4 separate regions of the Homo sapiens genome follow, and all the other regions are linked to region 3. The links are contacts of gene promoters, found by promoter capture Hi-C in blood cells and fetal thymus (Javierre and others, 2016). All regions are on one chromosome and are shown on one strand. The core of a region is centred on a gene start or on the middle of the fragment in contact, and the rest is flanking DNA. Distances in the headings are between cores, read along the strand shown. Region 1 holds the start of THOC5 (THO complex subunit 5). Region 2 overlaps NF2 (NF2, moesin-ezrin-radixin like (MERLIN) tumor suppressor). Region 3 holds the start of CASTOR1 (cytosolic arginine sensor for mTORC1 subunit 1). Region 4 holds the start of ZMAT5 (zinc finger matrin-type 5).

Region 1 (6,509 bases), core at 324-2,823, 740 kb after region 3:
GCCAGGCCAGGCCCTCAGGAATTCCCTGGTTTCCACTGGGCCACCCACTTGCTGGACAGTCTGAGCCAAGTCCCTCCTGCTGGAGAAAAGCCTGGAACTGCCAAAACAAAAAAACAAATACAAACAAACCTCGTCACCACGGTCAGGAGGAGGTTCAGACATTCTGCCCAGAGGGGCTGGGGAAAGGGATGGGAGCCAGGAAAGATTTAGGGGCAGGAGACAGACACGTAACAGGAACTCGGAAGGTAGAACTTAGAATTCAGAACTTGGGTTTCAATTGTAGAATTTGGAATCTGGAATACAGAATTGGGAAGAAGAACAGAGATGACAAAAGACCACTTGAAGAGAGGTTCCTAATACTAGACAGATGGAGAGTGGCTTGGCTGTTTCCCCCTGCATATTGGGGTTGAAAACTTAAATGTGTAGTTCCAGTCCTTCTATGCAGAGTCTCTCCTGCCCTCCCTCCTTCCTGCAGGCAAATATACAAGCTAGACCCTGTTCCCTCACCCTGTATCCTGTCTCCCCTAATTGACATTCTATCAGCCCAACCCTCATTCTGCAGGGCCACCTGGTGTGTGGAGGTGGCGGGAGGGGTCAGTGACTCTGGGGGTCTCCTCAGTGACCCCCATACCTCATCATGAACCCTTGGGTAGCTTGATTCTGCCTACCATCCAGGAAAACTTGTGCTGGAATTGCTGATGGAAACAATTAAATATTTACTATAAATCAGTGTCTTTTCTTCATCTGCAAGGAACTTTAGCAGGTGCCTGAGGCAGGGCACAGTAGAGCTGGTGGGCTTAGTCCCACATGGCAGATCTACCCTCCTGGAGGGTACTGTGTTCTTGAGCTATTCTCAACAGTCAGTACTGGTTGGGTGCAGTGGCTCACGCCTGTAATCCCAGCATTTTGGAAGTCCGAGGTGGGCAGATCACTTGAGTGAGGTCAGGAGTTCAAGACCAGCCTGGGCAACATGGTGAAACCCTGTCTCTACTAAAAATACAAAAATTAGCTGGGCATGGTGGTGCATGCCTGTAATCCCAGCTACTTAGGAGGCTGAGGCAGGAGAATCCTTTAAACCCTGGAGTCGGAGTTTGCAGTGAGCGGGGATTGCGCCACTGCACTTCAGCCTGGGTGAGAGAGCAAAACTCTGTCTCAAATAAAAATAAAAATAAAAAAGAGCCAGTATTTTCCTCCTTGCTCCTGGGAAGGAGAAGGAACTGGCCCCGTACAACCAGGGATTCAGGACACGTGTTACTAGCTCCAGATGAGGATTTACACGAAAAAATCCTGGGCCTTGTTTGTACAGTTCATGCCAGGGGTAGGAAATACCTGAAGCTTTCAAATACTGCGTTAGAGTTGTGACTCTGTCCTGGGCAAGTCAGGCCTAAAATGGAGAAACTGGTGATGCACTCCTCAAAAAGCCAAGTGTAAAATGAGGTTAATGCCCTCCCTGACTTGTTGCCTTCACTGGCGTGGCATATTATGGTAAAAATAATAATTAAGAAGTAAGGTTATGCAGGCAAATCCTCTAGCGCCGAAATCTTCCCCGCCGCGCTACCAGGTTCTTTCGTGTTATCTTGGACATAACACAACATTAATTCAACTACTCGGTGGAGCGCCCACTAGCTGCTGGACACTCTCTTAGGCCCTGGGCACAGTGAACGAGAAGCATGTGTCTTTGTTTTTACAGTCTCACCACGCCACCACCTCCCTCGGGGGCCTCCGCGCTGAGCTTCCGGCCTCTACGCCTCGCTTCCGGTCGGCCGCCCCTTCCTTACTTCCGGTTCTCTATGGTGCGCGGGCAAGCTTTGCTCCGCCTCCGGCAGTGGCTTACTCCCGGTGCCAGGTTCTTGGAGCTGTGAGGTGAGGAGGGGACAAGGGCAGTGGGGCTGGGAGATGGGGCGGGGCTGGGCGCTCCGGGACTGAGGTGCTGATCGCCCAAAGGGCGCCCCTGGGCTGGGGTCTGACCCGGCTTCTCCTCCCTCACTACCCGCGGTCCCCGGCCTCTCGGCGCTGCGCTGTTACCTCATCCGAAAAGTGTTCGCTGCAGCATCCTCAGGCTTCACGTTGGAGCCTCTTGATTGTGGTAATGTAGCCTGATGGGGGTGGGGGTGGTGGTGATGGTAACAGCTCACATATATCGTGCTCTTCGGTGTGCCAGGCACTCTACTGTGTTGCCAAAGTCAGGATTTCCCACACTTAAGCCTTTCAGGTCCGGTCTTTGTAGGCTTTGCCAGATCAACTTACCACCTCTACTACCGTTTATTAAAAATTTGTTTGTTTGTTTGTTTTAGTATTTATTGATAATTCTTGGGTGTTTCTCGCAGAGGGGATTTGGCAGGGTCATAGGACAATAGTGGAGGGAAGGTCAGCAGATAAACAAGTGAACAAAGGTCTCTGGTTTTCCTAGGCAGAGGACCCTGCAGCCTTCCGCAGTGTTTGTGTCCCTGGGTACTTGAGATTAGGGAGTGGTGATGACTCTTAAGGAGCATGCTGCCTTCAAGCTTCTGTTTAACAAAGCACATCTTGCCCCGCCCTTAATCCATTTAACCCTGAGTGGACACAGCACATGTTTCAGAGAGCACGGGGTTGGGGGTAAGGCTATAGACCAACAGCATCCCAAGGCAGAAGAATTTCTCTCAGTACAGAACAAAATGGAGTCTCCCTTGTCCACCTCTCTCCACACAGACACAGCAACAATCCGATTTCTCTATCTTTTCCCCACATTTCCCCCCTCTCTACTAGACAAAACCGCCATCGTCATCATGGCCCGTTCTCAATGAGCTGTTGGGTACACCTCCCAGACGGGGTGGCGGCCAGGCAGAGGGGCTCCTCACCTCCCAGAAGGGGCGGCCGGGCAGAGGCGCCCCCCACCTCCCGGACGGGGTGGCGGCCAGGCGGAGGCGCCCCCCTACCCCCGACCCGACGGGGCGGCTGGCCGGGCTGGGGCTGGCCCCCACCTCCCCCCCGGACGGGGCGGCTGGCCGGGCGGGGGCTGCCCCCCACCTCCCGGACGGGGCGGCTGCTGGGTGGAGGGGCTCCTCACCTCTCAGACGGGGCAGCCGGGCAGAGACGCTCCTCACCTCCCAGACGGGGTCGCAGCCGGGCAGAGGTGCTCCTCACATCCCAGACGGGGCGGCGGGGCAGAGGTGCTCCCCACATCTGAGATGATGGGCGGCCGGGCAGAGACACTCCTCACTTCCTAGACGGGATGGGGTCCGGGAAGAGGTGCTCCTCACTTCCCAGACTGGGCAGCCGGGCAGAGGGGCTCCTCACATCCCAGATGATGGGCAGCCGGGCAGAGACGCTCCTCACTTCCCAGACGGGGTGGCGGCCGGGCAGAGGCTGCAATCTTGGCACTTTGGGAGGCCAAGGCAGGCGGCTGGGAGGTGGAGGTTGTAGCGAGCCGAGATCACGCCACTGCACTCCAGCCTGGGCACCATTGAGCACTGAGTGAACGAGACTCCGTCTGCAATCCTGGCACCTCGGGAGGCCGAGGCTGGCCGATCACTCGCGGTCAGGAGCTGGAGACCAGCCTGGCCAACACAGCGAAACCCCGTCTCCACCAAAAAATACGAAAACCAGTCAGGCGTGGCGGCGCGCGCCTGCAATTGCAGGCACTCGGCAGGCTGAGGCAGGAGAATCAGGCAGAGAGGTTCCAGTGAGCCGAGATGGCCGCAGTACAGTCCAGCTTCGGCTCGGCATCAGAGGGAGACCGTGGAGAGAGGGGGAGGGGGGAGGGGGAGGGGTTTACTAAAAATTTTTAATCCAGTCCAAATTTTTTTTTTGCAACGGGATCTCTGTTGTCAAGACTGAGTGCAGTGGCGCGATCATAGCTCACTGCAGCCTGGAACTTCTGGGCTCAAGCCATCCTCCCACCCTAGCCTCCAGAGTAGCTTGGGACCACAGGTGTGCACCGCCATACTAGGCTAATTTTAAAATGTTTTCTAAAGATGGGGTCTCGCTCTGTTGCCCACTCTGGTCTTGAACGCCTGGGCTCAAGCGATTCTCTCACCTCTGCTTGCCTTGGTTTCCCAAAGTGTTGGGATTACAGGTGTGAGCCATGGTGTTGGGCCCAGTCACTTTTTTTGTTGTTGTTGAGACTGAATCTCGCTCTGTTGCCCAGGCTGGAGTGAAGTGGCTGCGATCTCGGCTCATTGCAACCTCTGCTCCCTGGGTTCAAGTGATTCTCCTACCTCAGCCTCCTGAGTAGCTGAGATTACAGGCGCCCGCCTCCACTCCCGGCTAATTTTTGTATTTGTGGTACTGACGGGGTTTCACCATGTTGGCCAGGCTGGTCTCAAACTCCTGACCTCAGGTGATCCACCCGCCTCAGCCTCCCAAAGTGCTGGGATTACAGGCCTGAGCCACTGCGCCCAGCCAAGTCACTTTTTAAACTCAAATTTACTTTGAGAGAAAACTTGAAATCTCTCCACCAGAAATGGAAAGCTGCTTTCACTTGTTTTATGTAGAAGGTAAAAATTAATATAGTTAATATAATGCAACTAGATCATTGTTAACAAACTCTGGCTAGATTTTGTTGTTTAAGGCTGTGGGATAGAGTTCTTTTGTTACAAAGGAACATTGGCATTCATAGATGTTAAAGACAAACTAGGGAACTGAGATGTTCTCCTTGAAGCAATCAGAAGTTTCAAAATAAGAATTGAAAAGGGATTAACTTTCTCCTTAGGTGTTCAGCATTATTTAAGATCACCTATGCATCATCTGAAGCCACAGTCCCAGGTCATCTTCATCACCTTCCCCAGTGGAATGCCTCCTGTGTTAAAGCCCACAACAACCCCTGTGGTAGGGACTGTTATTCTCATTTGATTTGTGAGGAATCAGACCCAGAGAAAAGTGAAGTGACTCGTCCGGGGACTCATAGCCATGAAAGAGTAGAATGGAGATTCCAGTTCAGGGCTCTCTGACTTTTACCGTGACAAACTATTGGCTCCCTCAAGTCGGGGATGTGGAAGCTTCAGTGAGTGATGATTGTGCCACTGCACTCCAGCTTGGGTGACAGAGCAAGAGGGATTAGGGTAAAGGGGACAGTGCTGCCCACCTCAGGAGGCTGTGGTGAGGCAACAAGGGAGGATGCTTTGTGACTGTAGAGCCCCATGAAATGTAGGTTCTATACTTTAAATTCTAGGATCAACCTGGGAGTCAATGGCATCACTAGATGAGAGGCTGGCAGGACTAGGAGGCATAAAAGTGTAGTTAAGAGCACCAGTATGGCATTGATTGGATAGATCCGGATTTTGGCCTACTAGTCATGTGACTCGCAATTACTTGCAAGTAATTCCCCTTGCGAGCCTCAGTTTTGTCATCTGTGAAATGGTGGTAGTTCTTAGCTGAAAAGTTTGTTATAAGGAGCAAATGAGAACATACCCATAAAGTAGTTAGATCAAGGCCCAGCACACAGTGATCACAGTAGTATTGGGAGTGTCTTTAAATGCCAGACCGAGGAGTTTGGATACTAATTTATGGAGCACTCTGCCAGGCTCAGGGGGAAGAGGGTAGAGCTCACAATCTAGGTGGGAAGACAGGTAAATGATTCATAGAGATAAATTCCCTAATAGTGTACCCAAAGTAGCCAAAAGAGGGCTTTGGGGAGACCTGACAGGCTTCCTAGAGCAGATGAGCATTGCTTAGTCTTGAAGGATATAGGGAGGAAAAGGAAGATCTTTGCAAGCAGGGGAAAAGACATGGAGTGTTTGGGGAACTGGGATTGCAGGGTGCAGTTGCAGCTAGGAGCAGAGGTTGGGGACAGTGGGAAGGTCGGTAGGAATAGGAATGCAAGAAATGAAGTTGGGAAGGTAGGTTGGGGACAAACCATCAAGGGTCTTTATGACAAGTCAGGGAATATGGATATTCAGTGCATTATGAAGAGCCAGCAAAGGTTTTGAAACAGGAGAGGCATTAATTAGGTCGGTCTTTTTTAAGAAAGAGAATTTAGACAGTATTGTTGGGCAAGACTGTTAGAGTAGTCCTGGAGAGGAATGTGGAGGGCCTGGCCTAGGGTGTTGAGATGGAGACACACATGGTGCCTGGATAGCTGGGTGAACACTTGAATGCAGGTCTCCTCTATGGAGAGTGTGGAGCAGGATGTGGGTGGAGGCAGGGCAGGGAGAGGTTGAAGTAGATGATTCCGAGGTCAGTGGGAGTGGGTGGTGATGCCTTTTTAAAAGAGAAGGTGGAGTTTGTTTTGGACAGGCTGAGAGATGCTTCCCTGTTGTATTACAGAGGGTTAAATTGAGGCTTTGAGGGGTTAAATGACTTTCCTTGAGTTACCAAGTCTGTAAGTGGCCAGAACTGCTAGTTTGACTTCAGTGTTATGACTCCAGAAGAATCTCAAAAACTTTCTCCTCTTAACAGGAGGAACAACCATGTCATCAGAATCGAGCAAAAAACGGAAGCCCAAAGTGATCCGAAGCGATGGAGCCCCAGCTGAAGGAAAGCGGAATCGATCTGACACCGAGCAGGTGAGATCAGTCAGGGTTGCCATGCTG
Region 2 (5,899 bases), core at 2,630-5,129, 670 kb after region 3:
CCTGGGCTTCATGAGCCTCCAATATCTAGCTTGAAGCTACCAATTCACACACATCTCTAGCTGGGCATGTTGGCTCATGCCTGTAATCCCAGCACTTTGAGAGGCTGAGGCGGAAGGATCGCTTGAGCCCAGAAGTTCCAGACCAGCCTAGGCAACATAGCGGGATCCCATTTCTTCAAAAAAATTAGCCAGGTATTGGTGGCATGTGCCTGTAGTCCCAGCTACTTGGGAGGCTTAGGCAGGAGAATCACTTGAGCCCAGCAGGTCAAGTCTGTAGTGAGCTGTGATAGCACCACTGCACTCCAGTCTGAGTGAGACCCCATCTCGAAAAAAAAAAAAAAAAAAAAAAGGCCGGGCACGGTGGTTCACGCCTGTAATCCCAGCACTTTGGGAGGCCGAGGCAGGCTGATCACAAGGTCAGGAGATCGAGACCGTCCTGGCCAACATGGTGAAACTTCGTCTCTACTAAAAATACAAAAATTAGCCATGTGTGGTGGTGCACACCCATAATCCCAGCTACTCAGGAGGCTGAGGCAAGAGAATTGCTTGAACCCGGGAGGTGGAGGTTGCAGTGAGCAGAGATCACGCCACTGCACTCCAGCCTGGGCGACAGAGCGAGTCTCTGTCTCAAAAAAAAAAAAAAAAAAAAAAAAAAATACAGGGTCTTCCAAAACTGAACTGTCAGTGAGAGGGAAGCGGATTGTAAAAGTCAAAGAAACAATGTCGTCTGAACAGTTAACTAACTTTTCAAAATCCATACATGAAAGAGTCTCAGAATAAAGATGTTACCAATTGCTATCTAGGTGGGCATACCAAATATTATAAGACACCAGGCTGAATACAGGCAGGAGCATTCTGACTATGTTAAATATGCAACTAGACAATGCTTAACTGTTATAACATAAGCCTCATTTTAAGCCAAAGGTAAGGAATTCTCATTATATCATGAGCAAGTGAAAATGATTCACTTACAGAAAATGTCCACTTGATTCAAAATGACAAACTAGACACTGAGGTAATGTAGCACGGATCGTTAGTCATGTCATTCATCCGGCAAAAATGTAAGCCACTGGCAAGTTTACAAAATGCTTTTGAGATAGTATCATACACCAAATGCAATAAAATAATGCCATAGGCAAATAGTTGTTAAGTTGAGGAAGTCCTTCAAATGATCTCTTCTTTCCACTTTCTTTTTCCTGTTTACCAAATACCTAAGTTCTCTCCAGGTTTCTAACTTTTTCTCTCCTACTTCTCTTTTACGCTTCCTATTTGGGTAGCATAGGGTAGTGGAAAGAGGGCTGGCCTGAAAGACAGATGACCTGGCTTCAAATCTCAGTCCCATCACTTAGAAGCTATGTGGTGACTTTGGACACAAAGAAGAGGAAACCCTTGAGCAGAGCCTAGAAGGAGAATGAGTTCAGTTCTGCCAAGCAACAAATGAGAATGGCATTCCAGGCAAAGAGAACAGCCTATGCAAAGATGTGGCAGTGTGAAGGAGGGACCAGGATAATAGGCTCAGAGCAAGAGGGTGCGTGAGGAAGTGGAGGAGAGGCTGAGAAAGGGAGCAAGCTAACGACAGGCACTGAACTTATTTCCTTTTTATTTTTTTAATTTATTTTATTTATTTATTTTTTGAGACAAGGTCTCACTCTGTCACCCAGGCTGGAGTGCAGTGGTGCAATCAGGAAGCTTATGGCAACCTCGACCTCCCAGGCTCATGTGATCCTCCCACCTCAGCCTCCCGAGATGCTAGGACCACAGGTGCACACCACCACAACCGGCTAATTTTTGTATTTTTTGTAGAGATAGGGTTTCGCCATGTTGCCCAGGCTGTTATTTCTTTAGGTAACAACCATTATATATAGCACTTATCTTGTGTTAGGTACTATTCTACGTACTTTACCAGTAATTACTCAAATTTAATTCTTGTAACACTATGCAGGAAGAATTAATTACATTCACCATTTTACAGTTAGGGAACAGAGGCATGTGAGGGGGTTAAGGAGCTTTAAGGTTGCAAAGCTGGTTAGAGGCAGAGCCAGGAATCAAACTCTGAAGTCTATGCTTGTAATCTCTAGGCTATGCTGCCTCAGCGGCCCCAACAAGGAAACTGAAGCTTGAGTTAAGATTTGCTCAACTTACATGTCAGCCTCAATGTGAGGTTCAAATAAGCAACTGCAGGCTTTACTGGTCGATATTAAGTTAAAGGGTGTGCCCATCTATTCTCCCTATTCTCTCACTACCTACCTGTCCCTGTCCTATTCTGCCTCTTTCAGAATAGATAGTGGCTGCACTAAGCCTTTAAGCATGCTATGTATCCTGTCTGAGCCTCTGTTTCCCCACTTAAAGATGAAGTCAGTTACAGAACCTAGGTCCAAAGTAGTCCTTGATCACTGCTAGGAGGTGTTCCCTGCCTGGTCAACGTGGGCACCCAGTAAATCAGAGCTGCGTGTGGTGGTTCACACCTATAATCCTAGCACTTTGGGAGGCTGAGGCAGGAGGATCCCTTGAGCACAGGAGTTTGAGACCAGCCTGAGCAACCAACGTAGGGAGACCCCCATCTCTATTTTTTTTTTTGGAGTCGGAGTCTCTCCCTGTCATCCAGGCTGGAGTGCAGTGGCTCAATCTCAGGCAACCTCCACCTCAGGCAATTATCCTGCCTCAGCCTCCCAAGTAGCTGGAATTACAGGCACATGCCATTGCCCCCGGCTAATTTTTCTATTTTTAGTAGAGACGAGTTTTTCCCATGTTGGCCAGGCTGGTCTTGAACTCCTGACCTCAGGGATCCACCTGCCTCAGCCTCCCAAAGTGCTGGGATTACAGGAATGAGCCACCATGCCCGGCCAACCCTGTCTCTATTATTTAAAAAACAAATAAATAAAAGAGACAGAGTCTCACTCTGTCACCCAGGCTTCATGCAGTGGTACGAACATAGCTCACTGCAGCCTCGAACTCCTGGGCTCAAGTGATCCTCTTGTCTCAGCCTACCAAGTAGTTAGGACTACAGGTGCGCACAACCACGCCTAATTATTGTCTTTTTTTTGAGACAGAGTCTCGCTCTTGTCGCCCAGGCTGGAGTGCAGTGACGCGATCTCAGCTCACTGCAACCCTCACCTCCCAGGTTCAAGCAATTCTCCTGCCTCAACCTCCGGAGTAGCTGGGACTACAGGCGCCCACTACCACGCCTGGCTAATTTTTGTGTTTTCAGTAGAGACAGGATTTCACCATGTGCCCAAACTGGTCTCGAACTCCTGGCCTCAAGTGATCTGGCCACCCCGGCCTCCCACTGGGATTACAGGTGTCAGCCACTGTGCCTAGCCTATTTTATAATATCTCTTGAATGAATAAATGAGTCCCTGTTATATCAAATGAGGTAGTGTGCATTTAAAGCATTTAGCATGGTACCTAGCACAAAGTAACTGCTAGTCCCTAGCCCTTTGTCCCACACAAAGGCAGAATGGGGTCCAGTGGAGGGCAGCACTAGCCAGCATCTGTTTCTTCGCACCCCTTCATCAGCACGCACGCACTCATCACTCACCCCTGCCTGTCCTAGACCTGAGTAGTGGCACCCATGCCATCCATAGGCACTACTTAAAACCCATGGGAGAGGTCGGGCACGGTGGCTCATGCCTGTAATCCCAGCACTTTGGGAGGCCGAGCCAGGCAGATCATGAGGTCAGGAGTTCAAGACCAGCCTGACCAACATGGTAAGACCCCATCTCTACTAAAAATACAAAAATTAGCCTGGCATGATGGCAGGCACCTGTAATTCCAGCTACTCAGGAGGTTGAGGCAGGAGAATTGCTTGAACCCAGGAGACAGAGGTTGAAGTGAGCTGAGATCACGCCACTGCACTCCAGCCTGGGCAACAGAGCGAGACTCCATCTCAAAACAAACAAACAAACAAACAAACAAAAAAAACCCATGGGAGAGCACAGCGGTAAAAAGGTAGATAACAGGCCAGGCGTAGTGGCTCGTGCCTGTAATCCCAGCACTTTGGGAGGCCAAGGCAGGTGGATCACCTGAGGTCAGGAGTTCGAGACCAGCATGACCAACATGGAGAAACCCTGTCTTTACTAAAAATCTAAAAATTAGCAGGGCGTGTTGGCACATGCCTGTATTCCCAGCTATTCGGGAGGCTGAGGCTGGAGAATCACTTGAACCCAGGAGGCAGAGGTTTTGGTGAGCTGAGATCATGCACTCCAGTCTGGGCAACAAGAGTGAAACTCCATCTCAAAAAAAAAAAGGTAGATAACAGTCTTACTTCTGAAACAGGAATAGAAGTTTCTTGTTGCACTAATATAGAGTATAGAACTATTACCCTGTACAACTACACTGCCCTCCAGAGTTTACATCCTTGAAGGGGATGGTTTGCCTGGTCCTAGGGAGCCTAGGATTTAAGATTTTACTGAAAATGCCAGAATTGTTCTATCTGTCTTCCCCTTTAGAAAGTTCCTTCTGTTATGGACAACTTACGTCCACTTGTATGCTGGAATGATCTGCAATGTTGGTATTTAATACAATCATAATCTCACTTAGGTATGTGAAAACATTTAGAATGCCAAACAACAGGAGAAGGAGGCTTTGTTTTCAATATAAGATAGTATTAGGATCTCTTACAACTTCCTATTTGGCTTTTCTTACTGATAGATTGAATTATTAGAGTAAAATTCCAGCCTAGATAAGAAATAACATAGCCGTTTAGCCTCCTGGCAAATTACACTCAGCACCCACTTTCTCAAAATGACAAACAACAAATCTTTCAAGTGGAAAAATCTTCCAAAGCATCCAGCCAATTGAGCAATGCAGCAAGTAGTGCAGGAGATTTTTCCCCCTATCTCTGCAGTAAAAAGAAAAAAAGTCTGAACTTATTAGCATAAGGTAACATGACTCATATGTTAAATGCCACCGGTTCTGAAATTGAGTCCTTCTTGAAAAGCCACCTACATTTGACCTCAATAAAGTCAAGAATTCTACAAGTACTCTCTCTCTCCTTTTTTTTCAAAATGCATCTGCCATCTCCTTGCATCAGCACCTTGCTCATTAATGGACAACATAAAAAGCAGGCAGGAGAATAAAACTAATCACTTACCTGAGCCCTATCATCATAAATCAAACTATGATTACTTTCAACAGAATATGTGAACATGGTTTACAAACAGGTTTTTCCACTGGAAATCTGAGGTTCAGTGAGGTGTAATGGCTTGATAAATCACAACAGGGCAGTGCCCATGGTAACCAGAGCCTCCTACTTTAGGCCAATTATAGTCCCTCCTATATCTTCCTTTCTGCCAGGGACTATGCATTCCATGAATCCTTATAAGAACTCTGCAGGGTCAGCATTATTAGTCTCATTTTACCAATGAGAAAATAAGGTCCAGAGAGCTATGTAACTTGTCCAAAGTAGAAGTATTTTAGCTAGAATTCAAGCCCAGGTCTGTCTTCTTTCAAAGCCGATGCACTTTCTACTACTGCTCTGCTATTCAAAGTGTGGTCCTTGGGCCGGTGGCACAGGTATCATCACCTGAGAGTTTGTTATTAATACAAAATTCTCACTTCCATCCCAGAACTACTGAATCAGAACCTACATTTTTCCAAGATTCCCCAGGTCATTTATGTAAAATTAAAGTTTGGCAAGCTTTGCACTATACCATCCTGCCTCTCTGAATGTCACTACTATTATCCTTTTCTATAGATCAGTGGTTCTCAATGTGGTCATGGAGGTTGGGTAGGGAGAAAGAGGAGATTGGAGGGTGTCCTCCCTACCCCAGGGACACTTGACAATGTCTGAAGACATTTTTGGTTGTCACAACAACTGGGATGGGGTGGGGGAATGCTACTGGCATCTAGTAGGTAGAGGCCAGAGATCCTGCTAAACATCCTAGAACATACAAGACAG
Region 3 (5,815 bases), core at 2,458-4,957:
GCTGGAATTTGAGCCTAAGCAGCCAGGCTGCCCTGGGCAGCGGTGGGTGACAGGTTGGCAGAGAGCAGGTTTTTGTCTGTCTGGGTCTTACCCCTTTAGCCCCATAGTCAGGCAGGTGGACTCGTGAAGCTGTGGGCAGCTTTATCCTCTGAGGCGGTGGGTCTCAAGTGTCCAGCTCACCTGGCACTCAGCTGTGGGGCTCGTGACTGCAGCTTGGGACTAGACCCTCATCCTTCCTGGGGTCAGTGTTTAGTGGCCAAGGCTGGGGGATGCTGAGGAAGACTGGGGGCCCAGGCTGGGAGGCAGAAGGGGAAGGTCCTTCTTCTTGGTGTCCACTTGCCTGTGTCACTGCCCCTGCAGGTGGTGGAGTTGCCCGTGACAGAGCGCCAGATTGAGCGCGAACACCTCATTCAGCTGCGGCGCTGGCAGGAGACCCGGGGTGAGCTGCAGTGCCGCTCCCCGCCCAGGCTGCATGGTGCCAAGGCTATCTTGGATGCAGAACCTGGTCCCCGGCCTGCCCTACAACCTTCACCATCCATCCGCCTGCCCCTAGATGCCCCCCTCCCTGGCTCCAAAGCCAAGCCCAAGCCACCCAAGCAGGCCCAGAAGGAGCAGCGGAAACAGATGAAGGGGAGAGGGCAGCTGGAGAAGCCCCCAGCCCCAAATCAAGCCATGGTGGTGGCCGCTGCAGGAGATGCATGTCCCCCACAGCATGTGCCCCCGAAGGACTCAGCCCCCAAGGACTCAGCCCCTCAGGATTTGGCTCCCCAGGTCTCAGCCCACCACCGCTCCCAGGAGAGCTTGACGTCCCAAGAGAGTGAGGACACCTACTTGTAACCCTGGCAGCTAAGGCCTCCAGGGCGGGGTCTCCATATAACTACACGGTTCATGAACTGACATTCCACATCCTGCCCACCCTCTGAGGGCCAAGCTGCCTGGCCACTGGGCTGGGCTGGAGTCTGGCTGGTCCAACACAGATTCTGCCTGGTCCAACACAGATTCTGCCTGAGCCTCCTTATTTATTTTCTTTACAGTGGCACTCAGGCTGGCCCAGCCAGGGCAGGCAGAAGCTAGGGCCTGGGGGGTGGGGCCTCCTTCAGCCCCCTCCTCCTGGGGGATGCTCCCCAGGGTTAGGGTGCTGGTGTGAGGGGAAAGGGTGGGGTGTTCTTTGTGTAAAATAGAAACATGGTTTTGTACAGAAATAAACAGCCTTGTATAGAGAGCTCGTGTACAGCTAGGGGCTGGGAAGGGGGTACCACCTTGGTCACCTTGGTGCTCAGCATCTCTTCTCTTTGCCCTACAGAGCCCCTTCTCCTGGGCCCCAGCCCAGCACCAGAGCCTCTCTGAGAGGTACCTTTGCCAGAGGACATGCCAAGTCCCTGGTCAGCCCCCATTCTTAACCCCCATTTTCACTCACCCCATCCCCACTGCCTTATGTCTACCTTCTGCCACAGATGAGGGACACCAGGGCTGGAGCTCAGTGCTGGGCAGAGCAGGGCGTGCTCCCTAGGCCTTGGTCCTCACCCACCCACCAAGGGGGCAGGGACTCCTAAGGAGGAGGTTTCAGGGTCTTCCTCCTTCAAGTCCTGGCCTGGATGCTACCTCAGGCTCCAGTAAGTTTCTGAGAGCTGATTCTGGGTTGGGGTCAGGGACGGGGCCCGGAGTGGAGCACCACGAATGTCCTCACAGGCTCAGCCCAGGCCCTCAGGGAGGGGGGCGAATTGTGGTTCTTTGATAAAATGCCGCCTTCGATTTACTGCCAAGTGCCAGGCTGGACTGGTCAAGTAGGCTCCATTAGCCCCATTTAACAGACGAGGAAACAGGAGCTGAATGGGAAAGCCTCAGCCGGATTTGCACCAAGAGCCCCTCACTCAGCTTCCTCTCCTGACCAGGGCTCCAGGAGACCTGACTCTGCCCTTGAGGGCCCAGGCAGGCACTGCGGTCACAACCTGATGACTGGTGAGGGCAAGGACAGGGTGTCCCTGGGAGAGGCCCCCCTTCTGCTGAGGAAGCAGCTTTTCCAGTCAAACAATAGCGCTATTCCTGGCAGATGACCAAGCTGGGCCAGGCCAGGCCATAGCGGGAGGGGGCAGGAGAGGGAGGAGCAGAGCCTCCCTGGGAGCTTTCAGCCTTCGCCTGGGCCTGGAACATCCTGTCCTGGTACAGCTGGGGATACTGAGGCCTAGGGAGGTGAAGGGTTTCAAGAGACTATCAGGGTAGGCCACTCCACTTCCTGCCTCCTTCCCCTCAGCCCCATGGTTTCCCACTCTGTCTGCACCTGCCATTGATGAGATGGGCTCAGCCTTTGAGAAGCTCCTCCTTCCCCTAGTCCTCCAGGGGATAGGCCAGGATGTGGTGGCTACATAGTGTTTCACAGGAATGTGTCAAGCCCGAGAGTCCAGGGAGGAGGCTTAGCTTGGCTTCCATCTGCCTATGGTGGGGGCTCCAGAGCAGGCAGAGGGCCTGCTTAGGCCTGCTGGGTCCCAATCAGGCCTGAGGCCTGCTTTAGTCTACTTGGTTCAAAGCCTCACATCTGAGGCCTCAGGGTGCTCAGGCCAGGCAAGGGTCCCCTGGAGCATTCTCAGCCCTGCATGGAGCCAACATGGACATGCTGATGCCTGCTTAGCCTTGGGGGGGTCTTAGACCTGTGAAGGCCTGATAAGATCTGGGGTGTCTGCCAGTGCCGGGGGCCTCCTTGAACCTGAAGCAAGTTTAGATGTGCACAGGCTAGCTAAGGGCTGCAGGCTTTGGGGCTCAAGTTTCAGGCTTGAGGTCTGAGTACTCACTGAACCTCAGCTGCAAGGGCCTCCCCCACCAAAGTCTGAGCACTGGGCATTACTGGCTCAAGCACTTCCGGGTTTTGTTGGTATCGAGGGACCTCAAGCCTTAGGCCTTGGCCACCTGCAGCCCCCTAACCCAAAGTATGTCGCTCAGGCAGAGGTGGCTAGGATTCTACCTCTGTGTGCCCCTGGTGAGGAGCCTTCTATTTTGAAAGTTGGATGAAAGGAACAAGTGGGGCTACCAGGCCAGGTTTCAATTTGTCAGCCCCCTCGCAAGCGGGGAAGGGTAGGTATCAATCGCAATCCTGTGTTGGCGGCCCTGCCCCCTGCAGCCATGAGAGGCAGGAGAGCGAAAGGCGCCCGGGGGACAGCGCTGCACAGCAGACCTGTGCCTCTCATTGCTCCGGGGATTTGGGGGCAGCGTTCTGGTCCTAGCCGAGCTCCAGTTTGTTTCGTGTCCCTTCTGTCTCAAGGACTTCAATCATGAAACCCACGTGTGTGCCAGAAGGACAGAAACGTCCCCTCCGGGATGCTCCCACCGGCTGCGCAGCTGGCTTTCCGCGGAAAGGGCGGAGCCCAGGGAGGGGGCGCGTCAGGGGCGGGGCCTGGAGGAGTCAGACGGGGTGGGGTCTATCCCCGAGCCAGTACTAAAAAAGGCGGAGCCGTTCGGGGCGGTCTCGGTGGGCTGGCTGGAAAGCGGGATGAGGTTCTGGCGTTAGGAGGAGGCGTGACCACCCAATAGGCTTCTCTTCCCGCGGGGCGTGGCCGTCAAGGAGCCGGACGCCGCGCCTGGCTGGGCGGGTCAGCCTCGCAGCGGGCGGCGTGGACGCGGCAGCGCAGCGGCTCCTTTAAGGCTCGGGCACCACCCCCGCCGCCCCGCCTCCCGTGCGGCCTGGGTCTAGTTGGCGGCGGGGTCGGGTCCGCGCGAGCCGCGATGGAGCTGCACATCCTAGAACACCGGGTGCGGGTGCTGAGCGTCGCCCGTCCCGGTCTCTGGCTCTACACCCACCCGCTCATCAAGCTGCTCTTCCTGCCCCGCCGCAGCCGGTGCGCGCCCGGGTTCGGGAGCGCAGATAGGGGCTGGGGGCTCTGCTCTCGCTCCGGGCCAGGGTCGGAGGATTAGGATCGCCGTAAGGCAGGCAGGCAGGCGGGCGGGAGCGGGTGGGGAGGACTCTCCCCGTCCGGCCGCCATCCGGCCTGGGGGACCGCCGCCTATCCGGCCCCGTGAGGCCCCCTCCCAGGGGCAAAGCGCAAACAGCCTGGGATGGGCAATGCTTAACTCAGTAGTGTCAAATGGGGGCATTCCTACCTGGTCACTGCGGGGAGCTCCTTCCAGGACGCCTCCCTTCATGTCAGAGGGGCTGGACTAGGGGGTCCAAGGTCCGACGCCCCTGGGGCTGTCGCCGCGGGTGTGAACCTCTCCTCCCTCCAGGAGTGGAGGGGTGGAGGGTTCCTGGAGAGGTCGGGAGGCCGGAAAGTAGCCCCCAACCCCCGAGATGGGGCTAACATCCCATTGGCCTGGAAATTAAAGGCCGAGAGGGCAAGAAGGCGCCCGGCCCAGGGTCGCGGGGGTGTCTCGGGGCAGATGGAGAGAAATCCACTCCCGACCCCTAGTTCTCCACACCAAGCTGAAGATGCTCCCCACCCCCAACCAGGTGCAAGTTCTTCAGCCTGACGGAGACCCCTGAGGATTACACGCTTATGGTGGACGAGGAGGGCTTTAAAGGTGGGGGTTGGTCTGGGGAACGGGAGTACGGGAGGGGCTTGTCGTGCTCCCCTTCTGTAGGGTTCTCACCAGTTGCTGGGATCCGTCCCAAGAGCTTAAGCCTTAAAAGCAGATGGGTCGGGGTTCGAATCCTACTCCACCACTCCCTGGCTGTGTGCCCTTGAGCAAATCACTTTCCCTCTCTGAGCTGTTTTCTCTTATGTAAAATGGGTATAGTTATGGTTCTGATACATAGGGTCCCATGAGGCCTTTATAAACTTAAAACCGCTGAGGGGCACTCAGCAGTCTTAGGCCTGCAGAAGGGCCTCTGTTATGATTCCAGTCAAGTGCTGCTGTTAGAAATCCCTGGGTATTATTTCCTCCTGGTCTTACTCTCTGGTTTGGGTCACCTCCTCCCCTGCTGGTCTGGAAACTCCAGGAGTCTGAGGGAAGGAATGCAGGAGCAGGCAGCCATCTCAGGGGAGGGTCCTGGAGGCCTCCTGGCTGTGCTGGGGTGAATAGCAGCCACCCAGGCCCTGGCCCCAGCTCAGGACTGGACGCCAGCCTGGGCCCTCCCTGGGGCCTGGAGCTGACGCCTAGCTCCTCCTCCTGCTGCTGGCCCTGCCCATCCTCACAGGCTTGGAGTCTCAGGCCAGCTAGCTGGAGCTTAGCCTGTCCCCATGCTCCACTGCAGGCCTTAGTTTCCCTGTTTTTACTTCAGAAGTCTGGGTCTGCAAAAGGGGAAGGCAATCCCCCAGCCAACCTGATCTGCGAATGCCCCCTGGTGGTGCCATGTGGTACAAAGCTTCTGCTAACCCACAGAAGACACCGTAGTGAGGTAGATATTGTCGTCCCATTTTACAGATGAGGAAACTGAGACTCAAATCACCCACCCCAGGTCATAAGACAAATTAACAAAGCTGGGATTTGAACCCAGGTCTGTCTGAATCTGGACCTCTGATCTTAAGTGGGAAGTTTCAATGCCACCAGGCCAGCACTTGAAGCCTTTCTCAGTCTTTGCACACATAGGGACTTCAGGAGCCCCAGCCTCCAGACCTGCCCTTACCTTGATGGAGCCCTCCAAGGCACAGAAAGGGAAACTGAGGCTCAGAGAGGGGCAGGGGCCAGCCTTGTAGACCCTGACCTGACATGTCCCCTGCCCACAGAGCTGCCCCCATCTGAGTTCCTGCAAGTAGCTGAGGCCACATGGCTGGTGCTGAACGTGTCGTCTCACAGCGGTGCGGCAGTGCAGGCTGCTGGGGTCACCAAGATCGCCCGTTCGGTCATCGCGCCACTGGCCGAGCACCACGTGTCTGTGCTGATGCTGTCC
Region 4 (6,444 bases), core at 1,602-4,101, 520 kb after region 3:
AAGCCGTTTCTTGCCAACAGCGAATGGTGGTCCATGAAGAGTACCTTGAGCATCATCTTCAAGCTGAGGCTCCAGCTCTGGGCAAACAGCTGCTGGGTGGACCTGGTCCTTCTGGCCTGGATGGGGGCCTCCAAGGAACTACTTGTTCTCATACTTGTGCTTGATGTGTTTCCACAGCTTCTGCATTTTAAAGACAAGAGCCACAAACTTTGACCTTTGCCTCTCACATTTTACAACTACTCCCACTGCCCTGGTCTCTAAAATGAGCTTGGGGGAAACACATGCCATGTCCTGATTAAAAAGATACACTTGTGGTGGGCAAACTCGAAGCAATCCTATGCTTGATGCACATTTTTTTTTTGAGACGGAGACTCGCTCTATCGCCCAGGCTGGAGTGTAGTGGCGCAATCTCGGCTCACTGCAACCTCAGCCTCTTGGGTTCGAGCGATTCTCCTGCCTCAGCTTCAAGAGCAGCTGGGAATACAGGTATGCGCTACCCGGCTAATTTTTGTATTTTTAGTAGAGATGGGGTTTCGCCATGTTGGCCAAGCTGGTCTCAAACTCCTGACCTCAAGTGATCTGCCTGCCTTGGCCTCCCAAAGCGCTGGGATGACAGGTGTGAGCCACCGCGCCGAGCCTTCATGCATAATTCTTGGCATTTATAAAATACTATGATGCTTTCAATCACCAGGTGAAGTAAGTGGAAAGGGGTGATCTTAATTTCACAGGAAATTCAGTTTGAGATTGAGGGAAGTGCCCCAAAACACACAATTATTAAGGAAAACAGCCTGGAAGATGTCTCAGTTCTTCAACTCCCAGGTATTACTGAAGAGATTATAAGTGCGTAGTCCCAAAATATTTCACCATGAGCCATTTAAGACATTTCCTGGGACCTAAATTGGCTGAAATTCTCATTCCCAGAAGCACAAGAGGTTGAGCACAGTGGCTCACGCCTGTAATCCCAGTACTTTAGAAGGCTAAGGCAGGAGGACTGCCTGAGCTCAGGAATTCAAGACCAGCCTGGGCAACATGGTGAAACCCCATCTCTACAAAAAATACAAAAATTAGCTGGGCGTGGTGGCGCATGCCTGTGGTCCCAGCTACTCAGGAGGCTGAGGTGGGAAGATCACTTGAACCCAGGAGGTCAAGGCTGCAGTGAGCTGTGATCATGCCACTGCACTCCAACCTGGGCGACAGAGTGAGATCCTGTCTCAAAAAAACAAAACAAAACAAAAAAAAGCACAAGGAAAATGGGTGAGTTATAACAACATACTTGGATGTCTCTCCAGATCAATGGGAGTGGTTAACAGAACCACTTGCAAGAGATGGGACAGTAGCAATGCTTTCATATGGGGCAGGAAGTTGCACTGGTCACAGGCAGCATAGCACTAGTGGACAGTGCCTTCCCGGGCTGCAGAGTCAGACAGTCTCAAATTAAAAACACAAGTGAGTGGTGGAACAGGGCTATATGTATAAGGCCTACTCCAGCACAGTCATAATTTAGCGATATAAAGCATGCACTGCACCTAGCACAGTGCATGATACATAAAAGTCAAAAATGTGTTGCGATTCCTACCTCATGCTTCCACTTTCTCCTGAGGAATGTAAGCAATGATTATTTTTCAGTGGTACCACCTACCAGGCATGTGGCACCCTGCCTGCATCTCATGTAATCCTCACAATCGTGCTCAGGTTACTATTAATATCTCCATCTCACAGTTAAAACGGAGTTCAGAGAAGAAACTTGCTCAACTTAATGCCACAGTTAAGTGACAAGGACCAGTGTTCCTATCCAAGGCTTTCTGATTTCATAGCCCCCACTCTCAACCATTAATACCAACTGTCTACGTGGGAAGCCTTGGGGACCAGAAGCGCCGTCTGAAACTTCAGCCACGGCGTCTAAGGTGTCTAACGTCCTTTTCACGACCGTCGCCTGCTCAAATCTGCCCTTGAAACTCTGAGAGACAGGGGTCCCGTTTCTGGCCCTGACTTGCCCCTGGCTTCCTGTGCAGCTAGTAAGTCCTTTGCTCTCACTAGCCTTTAGTTTTTGCTTCTGATAATGGGCAAGTGGGTATGTAGGGTGGCACACAGCAATACTTACAACCCCTGCAAAATGAAATATATTAACCTCGCTTAACGTTTTAGAATTCACATCAAGCCAAGGGGACAGACGGCGGACTCGAGACAGAAGACGCCGACGGTTTACCCCTTACCCCCTTCCTGGTAAAAGTATACTGAGTCCCATCCCACCTCTACTCCACTGTCACCCCTCAGGCGGGTCCAAGGTCAGGGATGGCACAGGCCCTCACCCCCTCGTTGATGTGGTCGTAGATAGCGTCCGCGCCTTGATCGAAGGCGCGCTCGAAGAACATGACGCCCACGATGATGGTGAGGGCGAAGGTGGAGGTCCTGCGGAACAGCAGGGAGTACAATTTCGAAGTCAACGTCGCGGCCGCCATGTTTCTTCACAGTCCAACTCGCGCCACCGCGCCTGCGCTGGGGCCGACCTCGTTCCCCAAAGGCCCTAGACGTGCAACACTTTATGGGATTTGTAGTTCCTCTGAATCTCAGCCTTCGTGTTTTGAACCACAGAGGTATTCCTATCCTGGGAATGAGGAAAAAAACTCAAAAGGTTCATATCAGGACAGCCCAGATAATCTGATAAGATTTATTACCCAATTTTTCTTCTCCAGAATTCCTGGCTGTTAGAATATGTCAAACTACAACTCCCAGAAGCCCTCGCGCGCCATCACCTTCTCCCCGCCCTCCGCCCAGTCCCGGCTTAGATTCCCAAAGCTCTCTGGGAAGGGCGAACTGATGGCCAAGGCGAGACTACGAATCCCAGCAAGCAGTACGCGACGCGAGGACGCAGGAGGAGGAGCCCGGAGCTGCAGCCACCGGGGAGCCAGGTACCTTCCGCGAGACGTCGAGGGGCGAGTCCTAGTCTCTTTTCTCCGCACTGGAAGACTTGAACACTTCCTTCTCTGTGCGTACGCCCTGCGGCGGGACGCACCATTTCTTGGGATAGGGTGTGGATAGAGGGGCGAGGGCAGCTGGGTTCCCGAGACCCTGGCTCAACTCTTCGCCTTGTCCCCTGCACCAGCCCCAAGTCTAGGCCAGGAGCTGGAGCCTGCGGCAAAAGTCTTGTCCTGGAGGTTAAACCCTTCACCCTGGATTAAGGGCAGGGACGGATCTGCCCTGCTTCCTGTTCCTCTCACCCCTGGGCTTCGCACCGGGCAACCCTGGTTTGGAAGGCTGGAGACTTGGAACCTGCTTGGGATTGAAAAGAGCAAGGGCTTTGGAGTACCTGGGGCATTCAACAGATGTTTTCCCAGCGCCTGTTCTGGTCCCTGCTCTGGGGACCCAGCAGTGAACAAAGTCCTTGCTCTCACAGAGCGCTCAATCTACGGAGTGGGCGGGTGGGGAGATGCAGTACAGCAAACAGATAGTGCTTTGGTTGACTGGAGAGGCAGTGGTGGTGACATTGCACCCTGGGTAGCTGCTCTGGGGGGTGACACTTGACTAGAGACCTGAATGAATAGTAGAGTTGAACAGGAAAACGTTGGTGCAAAGGCCTTGAGGCAGCTACAGTCCTGGGATGTTTGAGGGAAAGAAGTAGAGTGGACTGTGAAGAGGTTGACTCCGGTCAGCTCATGTCTGGCCTTGGAACCCACCTTACGGAGTCTTGTTTTCTTTGGTTTTTGTTTTTAGAGACAGGGTCTCACTGTGTTGCCCAGGCTGGTCTCCAACTCCTGGGCTCAAGCAATCTTCCTGCCTCGCCCCCCAAGGTGCGTGAGCCACCGCGTCTGGCCAAGGAGTCTTGTCTTTTTCTAGTTGCACTAGGAGGCCATTGAAGGGTTTTCAGGAGAAATGCGACAAGATTTAATGTGCACTTTAATGTCATCATCCTGGCTGGTCTATGGAGAGTGGACCGCAAGGGGGAAGTTATTGTAGTAGATCATTTGAGGGAAGATGGGTGGTTATTTATTTGAGATGGAGTCTCGGTCTGTCGTCCAGACTGGAGTGTAGTGGTGCTATCTCGGCTTACTGCAACCTCCGCCTCCCGGGTTCAAGTGATTCTCCTGCTTCAGCCTCCCGAGTGGCTGGGATTACAGGCGCCTGCCACCATGCCTGGCTAATTTTTTTTTTTAGTAGAGACAGGGTTTCACCATGTTGGCCAGGCTAGTCTCAAACTCCTGACTTCAGGTGATCCTCCCATCTTGGCCTCCCAAAGTGCTGGGATTACAGGCGTGAGCCACCATGCCCGGCCTGATGGGTGGTAATTTAGGTTAGGGTGTGGAGCAGGGCAGTGATCAGATTTGGGATGTAATTTGGGAGGGAGGGCAGACAGAGCAAGCTAGCAGATGTGTGTAGGGTGCACAGGAAAGAGGAATTGAGGAGGATATCTAAGTTTTTTTTGTTTTTTGTTTTTTGTTTTTTTTTGAGACAGAGTCTCACTCTGTGCGGCTGGAGTGCAGTGGCACAATCTTGGCTCACTGCAACCTCTGCCACCCATGTTCAAGCAATTCTCATGCCTCAGCCTACTGAATAGCTGGGATTACAAGCGGATGCCAACACGCCCAGCTCATTTTTGTATTTTTAGTAGAGACAAGGTTTCACCATGTTGGCCAGGCTGGTCTTGAACTCCTGGCCTCAAGTGATCCGCCTGCCACGGTCTCCCAAAGTGCCGGGATTACAGGTGTGAGCCACCGCGTCCAGCTGACATCTAAGTTTTGACCTCAACAATTTAAAATCAACAGAATGATCTTAAGTTCTGTTTTGGCCACATCAGTTTGAGCTAGCCAACAGACATCAAGTGGAGGTGTCTAGAGGCAAATGAGGACATGGATCTGTAGTTTAGAGGAGAGGTATGAGCCTGAGAAGAGTCATCCGGATAGGGGTGGCATTCAAAACCAGGGACTGGGCTGGGGATGGTGCCTCACACCTATAATCCCAGTGTTTTGGGAATCCAAGGCAGGAGGAACACTTGAGGCCAAGAGTTGAAGACCAGCCTGGGCCGTATAGTGAGACCGTCTCCATGAAAAACAAACTAGGGGCCAGGCGCGGTGGCTCACACCTGTAATCCCCACACTTTGGGAGGCTAAGGTGGGTGGATCACTTGAGGTCAGGAGTTCAAGACTAGCCTGGCCAACATGGTGAAACCCTGTCTCTACTAAAAATACAAAAAAATTAGCCAGGTGTGGTGGTACCCGCTTGTAATCCCAGCAACTCGGGAGGCTGAGGCAGGAGAATCGCTTGAACCTGGGAGGCGGAGGCTGCCACTAACTGAGATCGCGTCACTGCACTCCAGCCTGGGTGATGGAGCTCAAATGAAAACAAAACAAACAAAAACTAGGGATTGGATTGCAGGCCTGGCTCTGCCTCTGACTCTGACATTGATCAGGCTTTAACTCTCTTTTAATTCATCTGTAAAGAGCAACAGTAATACCAGGTTAGGGGATCAGAAGGTAAAATGTGAAATGCTTTACATCCATGAGTTATCCTTACTGTGGTTTTATACTATTTGCAAAGCATCCTGGGAGCCCCTCAGAGCAGGAAGTTGTGAGGCTCCAGGGGAAGACTACTTAGGTCTTGCTAATCATTTCCAACCAATCTGGCTGATGGGAAGTTCAGAGGAGGGAGAAATGAGTAGGGAAGACCACAGGGAGTTAAAGGTGTGGCTTGTTTCATTTGGTTTTATTATGTTTTATTTTTGTAGAGACAGGGTCTCCCTCCATTGCCCAGGCTGGAGTACAGTGGCACATAATTCCTGGTTGTAATAATCATAGTTCCTTGCAGCCTGGAACTCCTGGGCTCAAGCAATTCACCTGCTTCAACCTCCCAAATAGCTGGGATTACAGGTGTGCACCACCATGCTGGGTTATTATTATTACTATTATTATTTTGAGAAAGGGTCTTACTCTGTTGCCCAGGCTGGAGTGTAGTGGCACGATCATAGTTCACTGCAGCCTCGAACTCCTGGGCTCAAGTGGTACTCCCACCTCAGCCTTCCAAGTAGCTGGGACTACAGGTGCATGCCACTATGCCCCACTAATTTCGTTTTCTGGTTTTCTTATAGATTTTTTGTAAAGACTAAAAAAATTTAGGGGTGTCACCATGTTGGCCAGGCTGGTCTCAAATTACTGAGCTCAACTGATCCACCCACCTTGGCCTTCCAAAGTGCTGGGATTACAGACATGAGCCATCTCCCCAGCCTAATTTTTATTTATTTATTATTATTATTATTATTTTGTTTGAGACGGAGTCTCGTTCTGTTGCCCAGGCTGGAGTGCAGTGGCACCATCTCGGCTCACTGCAACCTCCGCCTCCTGGGTTCAAGTAATTCTCCTGCCTCAGCCTCCTGAGTAGCTGGGATTACAGGCGCCCGCCACCACACCCAGCTAATTTTTGTATTTTTAGTAGAGAAGGGGTTTCACCATGTTG

Evidence for each region. The method cuts DNA at HindIII sites, captures the fragments that hold promoters and counts their contacts. A CHiCAGO score of 5 or more calls a contact.
Region 1: a contact is called between a fragment that was not itself captured here and the fragment with the promoter of CASTOR1 in region 3, in 1 of 17 cell types (fetal thymus). The highest score is 6.8, in fetal thymus.
Region 2: a fragment that was not itself captured here is called in contact with the fragment with the promoter of CASTOR1 in region 3 in 2 of 17 cell types (fetal thymus and neutrophils); the score reaches 5.3 in fetal thymus.
Region 4: the fragment with the promoter of ZMAT5 here is called in contact with the fragment with the promoter of CASTOR1 in region 3 in 2 of 17 cell types (fetal thymus and neutrophils); the score reaches 9.4 in fetal thymus.

Annotation. Positions count from the first base shown.
Region 1 is chr22:29,549,025-29,555,533 of GRCh38, reverse strand. THOC5 (THO complex subunit 5) reads left to right here and starts at 1,777. Exons shown (of 20, transcript NM_003678.5): 1 at 1,777-1,863; 2 at 6,376-6,482. The coding sequence starts at 6,387. NIPSNAP1 (nipsnap homolog 1) reads left to right here. Exons shown (of 10, transcript NM_003634.4): 10 at 1-726. RefSeq lists enhancers at 1,407-1,476, 860-1,557, 2,955-3,654 and a silencer at 1,877-2,066. The HindIII fragment of the contact is 471 bases long and covers 1,338-1,808 here.
Region 2 is chr22:29,617,404-29,623,302 of GRCh38, reverse strand. All of the region lies in intron 1 of NF2 (NF2, moesin-ezrin-radixin like (MERLIN) tumor suppressor), which reads right to left. Among named protein-coding and RNA genes, the nearest start is that of NF2, 17 kb to the right of the region's middle. The HindIII fragment of the contact is 3,522 bases long and covers 2,119-5,640 here.
Region 3 is chr22:30,287,397-30,293,211 of GRCh38, reverse strand. CASTOR1 (cytosolic arginine sensor for mTORC1 subunit 1) reads left to right here and starts at 3,707. Exons shown (of 9, transcript NM_001037666.3): 1 at 3,707-3,827; 2 at 4,436-4,506; 3 at 5,652-5,815. The coding sequence starts at 3,715. TBC1D10A (TBC1 domain family member 10A) reads left to right here. Exons shown (of 9, transcript NM_031937.3): 9 at 361-1,222. The coding sequence ends at 837. RefSeq lists an enhancer at 2,390-2,449 and silencers at 3,330-3,769, 3,970-4,049. The HindIII fragment of the contact is 5,917 bases long and covers 1-5,292 here.
Region 4 is chr22:29,763,414-29,769,857 of GRCh38, reverse strand. ZMAT5 (zinc finger matrin-type 5) reads left to right here and starts at 2,851. Exons shown (of 6, transcript NM_001003692.2): 1 at 2,851-2,986. UQCR10 (ubiquinol-cytochrome c reductase, complex III subunit X) reads right to left here and starts at 2,489. Exons shown (of 2, transcript NM_013387.4): 1 at 2,310-2,489; 2 at 1-180. The coding sequence starts at 2,459. The coding sequence ends at 139. RefSeq lists enhancers at 2,358-2,407, 2,317-2,966, 2,768-2,997, 2,967-3,616. The HindIII fragment of the contact is 8,045 bases long and covers 1-6,444 here.